Regions from separate parts of the Homo sapiens genome. Here regions 1 and 2 are each linked to region 3. Evidence: promoter capture Hi-C in 16 types of primary human blood cells and fetal thymus (Javierre and others, 2016). All regions are on one chromosome and are shown on one strand. The core of a region is centred on a gene start or on the middle of the fragment in contact, and the rest is flanking DNA. Distances in the headings are between cores, read along the strand shown.

Region 1 (3,129 bases), core at 215-2,714, 480 kb before region 3:
ACTGTGATTTGGGGATTGTCTATTACTCCAGCACAATCTAACTGATCCTGACTGATACACCCTGTCAACCAAGGCTCAGGGGCACCAAGGCCTTTATCCCTGTTGGGTATTCCTTCCATTATGATGGGTACCCTTGCATTCTCCTTGCAAGTAATGAAGCCTATTTGATTCAAAAAATTCAAAATGCAGTCACAAAACTAGTTATAAAACATGAGGACATTTGCGGGGCTATTGAAAAACGTAGTAGCCGGGCGCGGTGGCTCACTCATGTAATCCCAGCAGTTTGGGAGGTCGAGGTGGGTGGATCATGAGGTCAGGAGTTCAAGACCAGTCTCTACTAAAACTACAAAAATTAGCTGGGCGCGGTGGCAGGTGCCTGTAATCCCAGCTACTCGAGAGTCTGAGGCAGGAGAATCATTTGAACCTGGGCAGCAGAGGTTACAGTGAGCCCAGATCGCGCCACTGCACTTCAGCCTGGGTGACAAGAGTGAGACTCCATCTCAAAGAAAAAAAAAAAACCAAAACCCAAAACCAAAACAAAACAAAAAACCCAAAAACGCATAGCATAGATATCCTACACGTGTCACACTCACCAATGCAGGTCCACAAGCAACCCACTAATGAACCTCCCTTTCCCTGAGAGCAAAATGCCAGCTTCTGCCTGGTATCAGCTCTAGCATTCGTGGGCTAATTTCAGAGGTCCTGGATTGTAGGTCCTGGATTCTGACATGTAGTAGTGAATGACCTTGGACAAATTACCTCACTGAGCGCCAGTTCTCTTATCTGTAAAATGGTGATGATAATAAAAACTATGTCATAGATAAGGAAAGTTAACATTTGCACATTTGTTGTATTTGCCACTCTGTGCAGACAGAAGGATAATGTGTGTGGAAGTGCTTTGAAAAGGGAAAGATCTATGCAAATATTAGTTGATAATATTTTTAGCCAATACATGACCAAAGAAGTAATACATCCAAAATCAAATAAACCTCCCAATACCTTCAGTCTTTAAAACCAAGCCCAGGTATGGATATCGGGATGTATTTACATTTCTGCAAAAGGTCCCCATACGCAAATCTCATTCTTAAATAAGGACAAATTACTCATTAGCTGAAGAGGAGAGAGGTCAAGTACCTGAGGAGGTTAGTCACATCAATCACCTGAGAGTTCAGCAGCATCCAACAGTGTTAGTTCCACGTGTTAACTTCCTGAAGAACCACAGGCTTGCACATCCAATTATGCTTCCTGTCCCTTTCCTCCCCCGTGCGGAATCAACTTCAGCTCATCAATGGGGTAGGAAAGCCTCCTTATTTCGCACCCTCCATGCTCCAGGCATCCAGGGAAATGCCCCTGCCACCCCTATCTCCCTTGAGTTCTTAGGGCTTCCTCCTCTAGCAAGGAGATTTCCCTTTCTAGTCCCGGGGGCAGCGGCACAGCCCGGCTCTGACCTCGCGGGAGCAGTCGCCTAAAAGAGGCTCCGCCCTTGGCCGCTTGGGGTGGCGCCCGCCAAACCCGCTCCTAAAAGGAGCCTCTCTCCCTCTGTCTGCTCTAAGCGCCTTGGGGGCCTAATCGCAGTCTCCACCTGGGTGCTGAACTTCCTTCTCCCCCGCTTGCTGTAGTCCAGTGCTGCTCTAACTTGACTTCACCTGACGGACTAATTAAAACAGATTGCTGGGCCCGCCCCCAGGGTTTCTGATTCAGTGGGGTTAGGATGGGGCCGAGAGCTTGCATTTCTAGCCAGTTCCCAGGAGATGGTGATGCTGCTGGTGCCGGGGCTCTCTTGGCGGAACCACTGCGTCTAGGCTAATGCAGCCCCAGGAAGGGCTCGCCCTATCCCTACGCCCACCCCCGCTGCTCTCCTGCCCTGAGCGCAATGTGAATGGGAATAGCCGCAGCAGCCCAGGAGGCTGGAGAACCAGAAGGCAGGACCTGAGGAGTTTAGGCTGTTTTATCTTGGGCGCCCCTGACCAGTTTGTGCAAGTCGTAAAGAAAGCAGGAAAGAAGCCTATGGGTCTTCAGTGTTACTGGGGTCTGTCATTCATTAGGGTCTACTCACCTCGTCTCTTCATTCAACACAGTGGTTGGTTGCTAGGTCTAGGGTTATGAGGTGAAAGACAGCGTGCTACCCTTCCAGGAGTTTGTAGTAACTGGGAAAGAAACATGCAAACCATTCCAGTGCCCAGCGCCGATGAGATAACTGTTCCTAGGCAGGGAGAGTCAAACTTCTGTGGAGGGAGAGTGGGTGGGGCTCTGGAATCATCTGAGCAGCTGGAGGTTTCATGGAACTGGCACTTATGACTTGCAGGATGAGTGGGAATTTGGCAGGTACAAGGGGTAGCTGAGAAGGGGTGGGGTGGGAAGGGTTTTTCCCCAGGCAGAAGGAATGAGCAACAGGACTGCCGAAGTGTAAGGTTCCAGAGGCCGGGAAGATATGACAGGCAGCTCTCTAGCCTGGCTGGGTTCCCTCCAACCTCTCTGGCGGCGCCTTCTCAGCTCCTGTCCCTCATGGGCTGGTATTCCCTGGGGCTCTGTCCTGGCAGCCTTTCCCTCTCACACTCCATATCCACCCTGGATGAGCTCCTCCACAACTGAGGCCTCGCTGTCTGCTCACTGATGGGGCCCAAATCTCAAACCCAGGCCTCACCCCCTCAGTTGCACACTCACTTTCACACGAATGTCTCCATCCCCAGGCATCCTTCCTTCTGCATTTTGTCACAGTGAATGGCACCAGCATTCACCCAGTTACCTAAACGAGAGGGCTTTATGAAATGACCCTCTCATAGATTGCTGGCAAAGAGTAAATGACACAGTAACTTGCTGGTGCCATTTACCCAGACAGAATACAAGAGGATGGCTGCTGGGCTCCTCTGAAAGTCCACAACTTACTAGCTGAGTGATCCTGGGCAAGTTATTTAATCTGTTTTCTTATCCATAAAATGGGTTTGATGATAGTACCTACCTCACAAGGTTGTCATATGGATTAAACAATATTAGTTGTTGTCATTCATTGAGCCCTATATTAAGTCTTTTACTTGGATTCCCTTGAAGATGGAGTACCTAGTCCAAGGTCACACTGTTACCAAGTGGCAGATTCAGGTTTGGAAGCCAGAGTTCTCTGGCTCCTGAGCC
Region 2 (3,384 bases), core at 792-3,291, 410 kb after region 3:
CATAGATCCTCCTCAAAGAGAACGAGATTGTCTTCCAATTCAAGGAAGCAGAAGGTCTCCTCTTCCCACTTGAGAAAAGATGTAGGTTCTTTGAACCCAGCCCTAGCCAGTGGAACTTCTTGCAGCAATGGAACTGTCTCCTATCTTCCCTGTGCAATATGATAGGCACTGACCCTGTGGCATCGAGCCCTTGAAGTGTGGCTGGTGTGACGGAGGAACTGAATTTTTAAGGTCTTTTTTCTTTTCTTTTCTTTTTTTTTTTTTTTTTTGAGACAGTCTCACTCTGTCACCCAAGCGTGACACCCAAGAGTGCGGTGGCACCATCCCGGCTCTCTGCAATTTCTGCCCCCCAGGTTCAAGCGATTCTCCTTCCTCAGCCTCCCGAGTAGCTGGGACTACAGGTGTGCACCACCAGGCCCGGCTAATTTTTTGAATTTTTAGTAGAGACAGCTAATTTTTTGAATCACCATGTTGGCTTTGAGCTTCTGACCTCAAGTGATCTGCCCGTCTTCGCCTCCCGAAGTGCTGGGATTACAGGCAGGAGCCACTGCGCCGGCCTGTTTTAAAAATTCTAATTAATTGACATAGCCACAGATGGCCAGTGGCTACTATATTGGGCAGGGCAGTATTTAATGCTTCTTCACGGTCTATTTTTCTCTACCTTCCTATGTTAGGAGCGCAACTGGAAAGAAAGCAGTGATCAGAGCTGGGGGAGGAGAAACCATTTTGCTTTTCCCCCTTCTAACCCCCACCTCCAGTCTTTGATGATTGGCCTTATCTCTTTGCACAACTTCTGCATCTCCCTTTTTTTTTTTTTTTTTTTTTGGGATAAAAACTATTTGTACTAAAGATCATTTTGACTAGAGTGCCAGGAAGAAGGTGCTGGGAATTTGTTTAATATACGTATCATATAATTCATCTCTAGTCACCTTCCCGACAGAACAGAATTTGCTGAATATATCCCTATTTTCATGTTAAAATACTTGAACTCTGTTCAAGGGAGTTGGCTCACCTGCACTGGTGATCCCCATGGCAAGAGAGCCTTGTCCTCCCCAGCCTTTGCTCTTGAAAATGTTTTGGTTTGGAGGTCGAAGGTTCAGCCTCAGCTGTTGTTAACTTTGCATGGGATCAGACAGAGGGACAGACAGAATGGATGTGGGAAGTTTAGTTAGATCTGGCCATCTTCCAGATTGGGGTGGCCTTGTCTTCCTGGGTCCCTCCTGCTGACCATACCCTAGGCATCAGGAGATCCAACAGGTCTGTCAGTTTCCCTCTCCCAACCTCTCAGTTCCTTTATAAATGTAAGAACTTTCTGTGGTTTGGCATAGTGGTTCTCAACCTACTGCTCCAGGATCACCTGGAGGGCGGAAGGCTTGCTAACAGATGGCTGGGCCCCACCCCCAGAGTTTCTGCTATAGTCGGTCTGTGGGGGCGGGCCTAGACCCTAGAATGTACATTTCTAACATGTTCCCAGGTTAAGGGAGTGAGGTTGCTGTTCCAGGAGCACACTTTGAAAAGCCATGGTTTAGTCGAATCTTCTTGCACCTTCCTGGATAGGAAAAGGATAGTTGACCTCTTATCCACCTTGGCTTTTAGATTTTGCCACGTAGTCAACCTGGCCCTTGGAATCTGCCCAGCCTCTTTGGCCTCTGCTTACTTTTTACACCTGAATGCCTCTAGTCTCAGCCTTCACCTAAAGGGTCAGCAGCTTCTCTTTGAGCGTGTAGGGTGGGGCAAGAAGGACGCCAGGGGATTGTGGGCTTTGGGGCTGATTGAAAGCCTGGCTTATTATGAATACAGCTTTTTTAAGGCTTAGGAGCTCTGGGTCCTGCACAGTGAGTGCGTGCGGTCACGGTTGTGAGGCTGCTCACCCACAAAATGTGATTTATTTCTCAGCGCTCTTCATGGACTTACTGGATGTTCTGTTTAGAAAGTTAGAAAACAAAGATAACTTCTTTGAATTGCCCTCAGGAGATTAGTTTTCTAGAATGGAGAAAAAAATATAAAAATTACTTGTTTTTGTTAAGTTGGTTCATAGAATGCCAACAGAGAATGCTGTCCCTGCAAACCACCCCCCACCCCATCACCAGAGACAGGGATACTAAAATACTTCTTGGCAGCAAGATGGGCTGGCCTTTGGTATGATCGTCAACTGGGCTTCCATGTCAATGGGTTTCTGACAGGGCCACCAAAGAATGTTCTGTTCCCCGGGCATGAAGTGACTTTCTGATTAATGTTGGCCATGATTTCCCCTACCTCACAGGGTTATCTTGACAGCAGTTTAGAAAAATGGCTTAAGTAGAGGACAATATTTAGTGGGCAAAAACTAATGTTAAGCCTTTATGTATTGACTCATGTACTCCTTTTCATAACTCCATGAGGACAGGTCCAGTTATAATTCCCTTTTTGTAGGTGAGCAAATGAAGATATCAGAGGAGATATGGGTTTTGCACACATTCAGCTAGTTACGTGCTGAGCCTGAAGTGCATGCCCTTAATCTCTATGCTGTTCGACCTCTCTGCTCACCACCCTGTGTCATGTATCCTTAGCTGTTTGACCACATTGCCGAATGCCTGGCTAACTTCATGGATAAGCTACAAATCAAAGACAAGAAGCTCCCACTGGGTTTTACCTTCTCGTTCCCCTGCCACCAGACTAAACTAGACGAGGTAAGATGGGCTCCTCAGACACTTGTTGCTTCACTCTTGGGGCTGGGAGGGCTGAGAGGGACTTCTGAGCCACCTGCTGTGGTGGTGGTGGTAGCACTGGAGGATTGTGGAGATGAAGTTCTGCCTTTCTGGGTGACTGTGTATGTCGATGGGGGGGCTGGTGAAGAAATCTGGGGGGTTGGGAGTGCCCTTTATCACCCTCTCTCCCACACACATTGCACAGTATCCTTATCCCCTCCACAGAAACAGGAATGAGAAATCAGGAACTCCCCAGTCTAAAGTGTTATGATAAAGACCCTTGGAAGAAAGATACTTGGAGAGTTAATGATGTAAGGACACAAGTACAGTCATGTATTGCATAACAATGGGGATATGTTCTGAGAAATGCTTTATTAGGTGATTTCACTTATGTATAAACATCATAGAGTGCACTTACACAAACCTAGATGGTATAGACTACTACACACCTAGGCTGTATGGGACAGCCTGTTAACTCCTAGGCCACAAATCTGTATAGCATGTTACTGTACTGAATGCTATAGGCAATTGTAACACAGTGATATCTGTGTATCTAACTAGGCAATAGGAACTTTTCAGCTCTATTATAATCTTGTTACCACCGCAGTATACACAATCTGTCACTGACTGAAACATTGTTATGCGGCACATGACTGTGTCTTATAGTGCCAGTTGTCCTGAGTTTCTTTTTCCTAGG
Region 3 (3,235 bases), core at 532-3,031:
AAAGGAGAAGAAAAAGTGGACAAGCCACTGAAGGGCTGTACGCAGAGAAGTGACATACTTGGTTTACATTTCAATAGATTACTTTGGCATCTTTGTAGAGAATGAATCTTCGTGGAGACAAGAGATAGAAGTATGGAGAACAACTAGGAAGCTGTTGAAGTAATCAGCTGAGAGGCAGTGGTTGCTTTAACCAAGACGAAAGTGGTGGAGATGGAGAAAATCAGATGAATTATGGCTATATTTTGGAAGTAGATACTTGTGGGGAGGGGAATGGAGAGAAAATATATCAAGGCTAAGCCTGGGATTTTGGCTTGAGCAGTTATCCACCTGATACTCTCTATTGAGATAAGATTAAAAATAACAACAGACCTCTGGGAAAGCTGGTACAGTTTTGGTGCACAGGTCAGGCAGGTAACATTACTGATGCTTCTCCCCTTGAGAGATAAGGACCTAAAGCTAAATGTCAGGAGATCTGGGAGGAGGCAGTATTTATGAAGAGGAACCTATGGAAGGTGTCCTGGAGAGGGTGCTCATTAATTAATATCCCGCCTCCGAAGGCCTGCACTGCTCAAGACCCTGCCTTCCATGTCCCTTCTTTCCCCTCCCCCGATCTGGCCGACCTCGCCTCTCCATCTTCCTCCATTTTCAGACAGCACCCCGTCTCTGTCTCTCCCTAGCGAGCTCTGCTCCAGAAGGCGCGGAGTCAACCTTCCCCTATGCTGCCGCTGCCTGTAGCTGAGGGCTGCCCACCTCCCGCCCTCACAGAGGAGATGCTGCTGAAGCGCGAGGAGCGGGCGCGGAAGCGGCGGCTCCAGGCGGCGCGGCGGGCAGAAGAGCACAAGAACCAGACTATCGAGCGCCTCACCAAGACTGCGGCGACCAGTGGGCGGGGAGGCCGGGGGGGCGCACGGGGCGAGCGGCGGGGAGGGCGGGCTGCGGCTCCGGCCCCCATGGTGCGCTACTGCAGCGGAGCACAGGGTTCCACCCTTTCCTTCCCACCTGGCGTCCCCGCCCCCACGGCAGTGTCTCAGCGGCCATCCCCCTCAGGCCCGCCGCCGCGCTGCTCTGTCCCCGGCTGTCCCCATCCGCGCCGCTACGCTTGCTCCCGCACAGGCCAGGCACTCTGTAGTCTTCAGTGCTACCGCATCAACCTGCAGATGCGGCTGGGGGGGCCCGAGGGTCCTGGATCCCCCCTTTTGGCTACGTAAGGCCCTTAACCCGGACTCTGCGCCCCGTCCCATGCCCGCTCTTGAGTATCTTCCCCACCCTATTAAATTACATCCGGTGCTTCGGCTTGTACAGAACTGGGGGAGTGGGATGTTGTGGGCAGACCAGTCTCCGGTATACACGTATTTTGCCCCTGTCGGAGCTTGCGTCGATGCCTGGGGCTTGGAAACCACCGCAAAAAACCAGGCTGCAAACCAGCGGACCGACTTTTGGGACTCCGCCTCTTCCAGCCGGGATTACCTGGCGTGCTTCGGCCTTTGGCGTCATTCCGAAAACATACCGCAAGCCAATCAGCGGCAACCTTGCTCTTCGGGGCGGCTGTTCGTTGGTTGATATGCCAGAGCCTGTTCTGTTGTCTGTATTGGCTATTGCCGCTGTCAGTCAGGGCCGTGGGTCGAACCTTCACCTACTCTTTGTCTGTACAAGCTCTTGTTGTCTGGGTGAGCGGCGGAGGCGCTGCTGTGGATTGGTCACAGGGAGAAACCTCTGATCTGTTCCTATTGGCCCGTCCGTCAAGGGACGATGATGATTGGTAGGGCAGAGCAATCTGAGTCCTAGTTGGTGGAGTTCTGCCCGGATGGAAGCTCCGGCCGCGGAGTGATGGTGGCCTCAGCGAAGATGGGCCGGGCAGGGACCATGGCGGTGGCAGCAGAGGTGGCAGGGGCGGGGCGGCTGGCGGTAGAGGAGGCTGTGGTCCTCAGGGGGCTGTAGGTGGAGGTATGGCTCGGGCCAGCAGCGGGAACGGCAGCGAGGAGGCCTGGGGGGCACTTCGGGCGCCGCAACAGCAGGTATCCCAATAGCTCCAAAACCTATCACGACAGCCATTTGTCTCTTTCCCCTTTCCTTGTCCCTTCCTTTTGGGGGTGGGGGAGGAACTCACGGAGCCAAAGGTACTGTGAAGTTCCTAAACATGTCTCTTCCACTCTTTGTCTAAACTTTGTAACGTAGATGCAGCTGACTTTGCCTGTAGCCTCATAGAACCCATCCCATGGCTGCAGTGGAAGCTTGCGGTGGCTCTCCAGTGACCAGAGGCATAGTGAGGTCCCAGGGAGGCTCCCTCTGTCTTGCAACAGTTATTTGTGATCTTTTTCTATGTGCCTATTGTCACAACAGAGTCCGGCAGCGTCTTCTCTTGAGGGAGCAATTTGGAGAAGAGCTGGAACCCAGACTCGCGCCCTGGATGCCATCCTTTATCATCCACAGCAATCCCATCTGGTTGGGAGCACTGCTCTGGGTCTCACACTGCCCCTCCTCTATCCTAGGGAGCCTGAGGCCCAGGGGTGGAAAGATCCAGTTGCGGGTGGGGGGTAGTGAACCGCGCAGGATAATGAAAGCAACTTGCTTTGGAAATGACCTACCGCTACCCGTTGTCTGAGACTGAGATTATCTCAGACTGTCTTCTGGCTTCTGCCAAAACACTCCCTTAACAGAAAGCACCGAGGGGATGGGGGTAGGGGGGTTGGGGAGAGTGAGGCTTGAGTGTGAAGGAAGTCTCATATATGCAGAGCTGAAATCTCCCTCTTTGTATGTCCACACTTTTGTCTTGTTCTCTAGACTGATTCTTGCTATTCCAAATCCTCTTCCACGTTGACAGCCCTTCAGATATTTCAACACTCCTCTCAGCATCCTCCACTTCCCCCATCTCTCCAAGCTGAACTTGGTTCACAGGGTGGGATTGTGTATGTGCATGCAGGAGGTGGGGGTGGACAGTGCCCTGGGCTGGAATCCCCCTTAGTTCTAAGTGCCTCCTTGCCCGCAGCTTCGAGAGCTGTGCCCAGGAGTGAACAACCAGCCCTACCTCTGTGAGAGTGGTCACTGCTGCGGGGAGACTGGCTGCTGCACCTACTACTATGAGCTCTGGTGTAAGTCTCCAAGAGGGCTATTTCCAGGTCCCTGTGTCCACCCTCCCTTGGACCTCAGAATTTCGGCCTTCAGGGCCCCTTCTCTGCATGAAAGATGCCTGAGTTGCTCCCTCCTTGCCTCTTGCAGGGTTCTGGCTGCTCTGGAC

What was found. The method cuts DNA at HindIII sites, captures the fragments that hold promoters and counts their contacts. A CHiCAGO score of 5 or more calls a contact.
Region 1: the fragment with the promoter of DGUOK-AS1 here is called in contact with the fragment with the promoter of WBP1 in region 3 in 7 of 17 cell types (naive CD8 T cells, activated CD4 T cells, non-activated CD4 T cells and 4 more); the score reaches 7.8 in naive CD8 T cells.
Region 2: a contact is called between a fragment that was not itself captured here and the fragment with the promoter of WBP1 in region 3, in 1 of 17 cell types (neutrophils). The highest score is 5.9, in neutrophils.

Annotation. Positions count from the first base shown.
Region 1 is chr2:73,979,975-73,983,103 of GRCh38, forward strand. It overlaps DGUOK-AS1 (DGUOK antisense RNA 1), which reads right to left and starts at 1,465. Exons shown (of 2, transcript NR_104030.1): 1 at 1,161-1,465. The HindIII fragment of the contact is 8,489 bases long and covers 1-3,129 here.
Region 2 is chr2:74,869,751-74,873,134 of GRCh38, forward strand. It overlaps HK2 (hexokinase 2), which reads left to right. Exons shown (of 18, transcript NM_000189.5): 4 at 2,550-2,669. Among named protein-coding and RNA genes, the nearest start is that of HK2, 37 kb to the left of the region's middle. The HindIII fragment of the contact is 5,523 bases long and covers 1-3,384 here.
Region 3 is chr2:74,456,657-74,459,891 of GRCh38, forward strand. WBP1 (WW domain binding protein 1) reads left to right here and starts at 1,782. Exons shown (of 4, transcript NM_012477.4): 1 at 1,782-2,015; 2 at 2,987-3,089; 3 at 3,217-3,235. The coding sequence starts at 1,947. It overlaps INO80B (INO80 complex subunit B), which reads left to right. Exons shown (of 5, transcript NM_031288.4): 5 at 678-1,288. The coding sequence ends at 1,208. It overlaps INO80B-WBP1 (INO80B-WBP1 readthrough (NMD candidate)), which reads left to right. Exons shown (of 8, transcript NR_037849.1): 5 at 678-1,204; 6 at 2,987-3,089; 7 at 3,217-3,235. RefSeq lists enhancers at 585-654, 1,153-1,659, 1,285-1,434, 1,660-2,167, 2,105-2,214 and a silencer at 795-1,034. The HindIII fragment of the contact is 3,318 bases long and covers 1-2,229 here.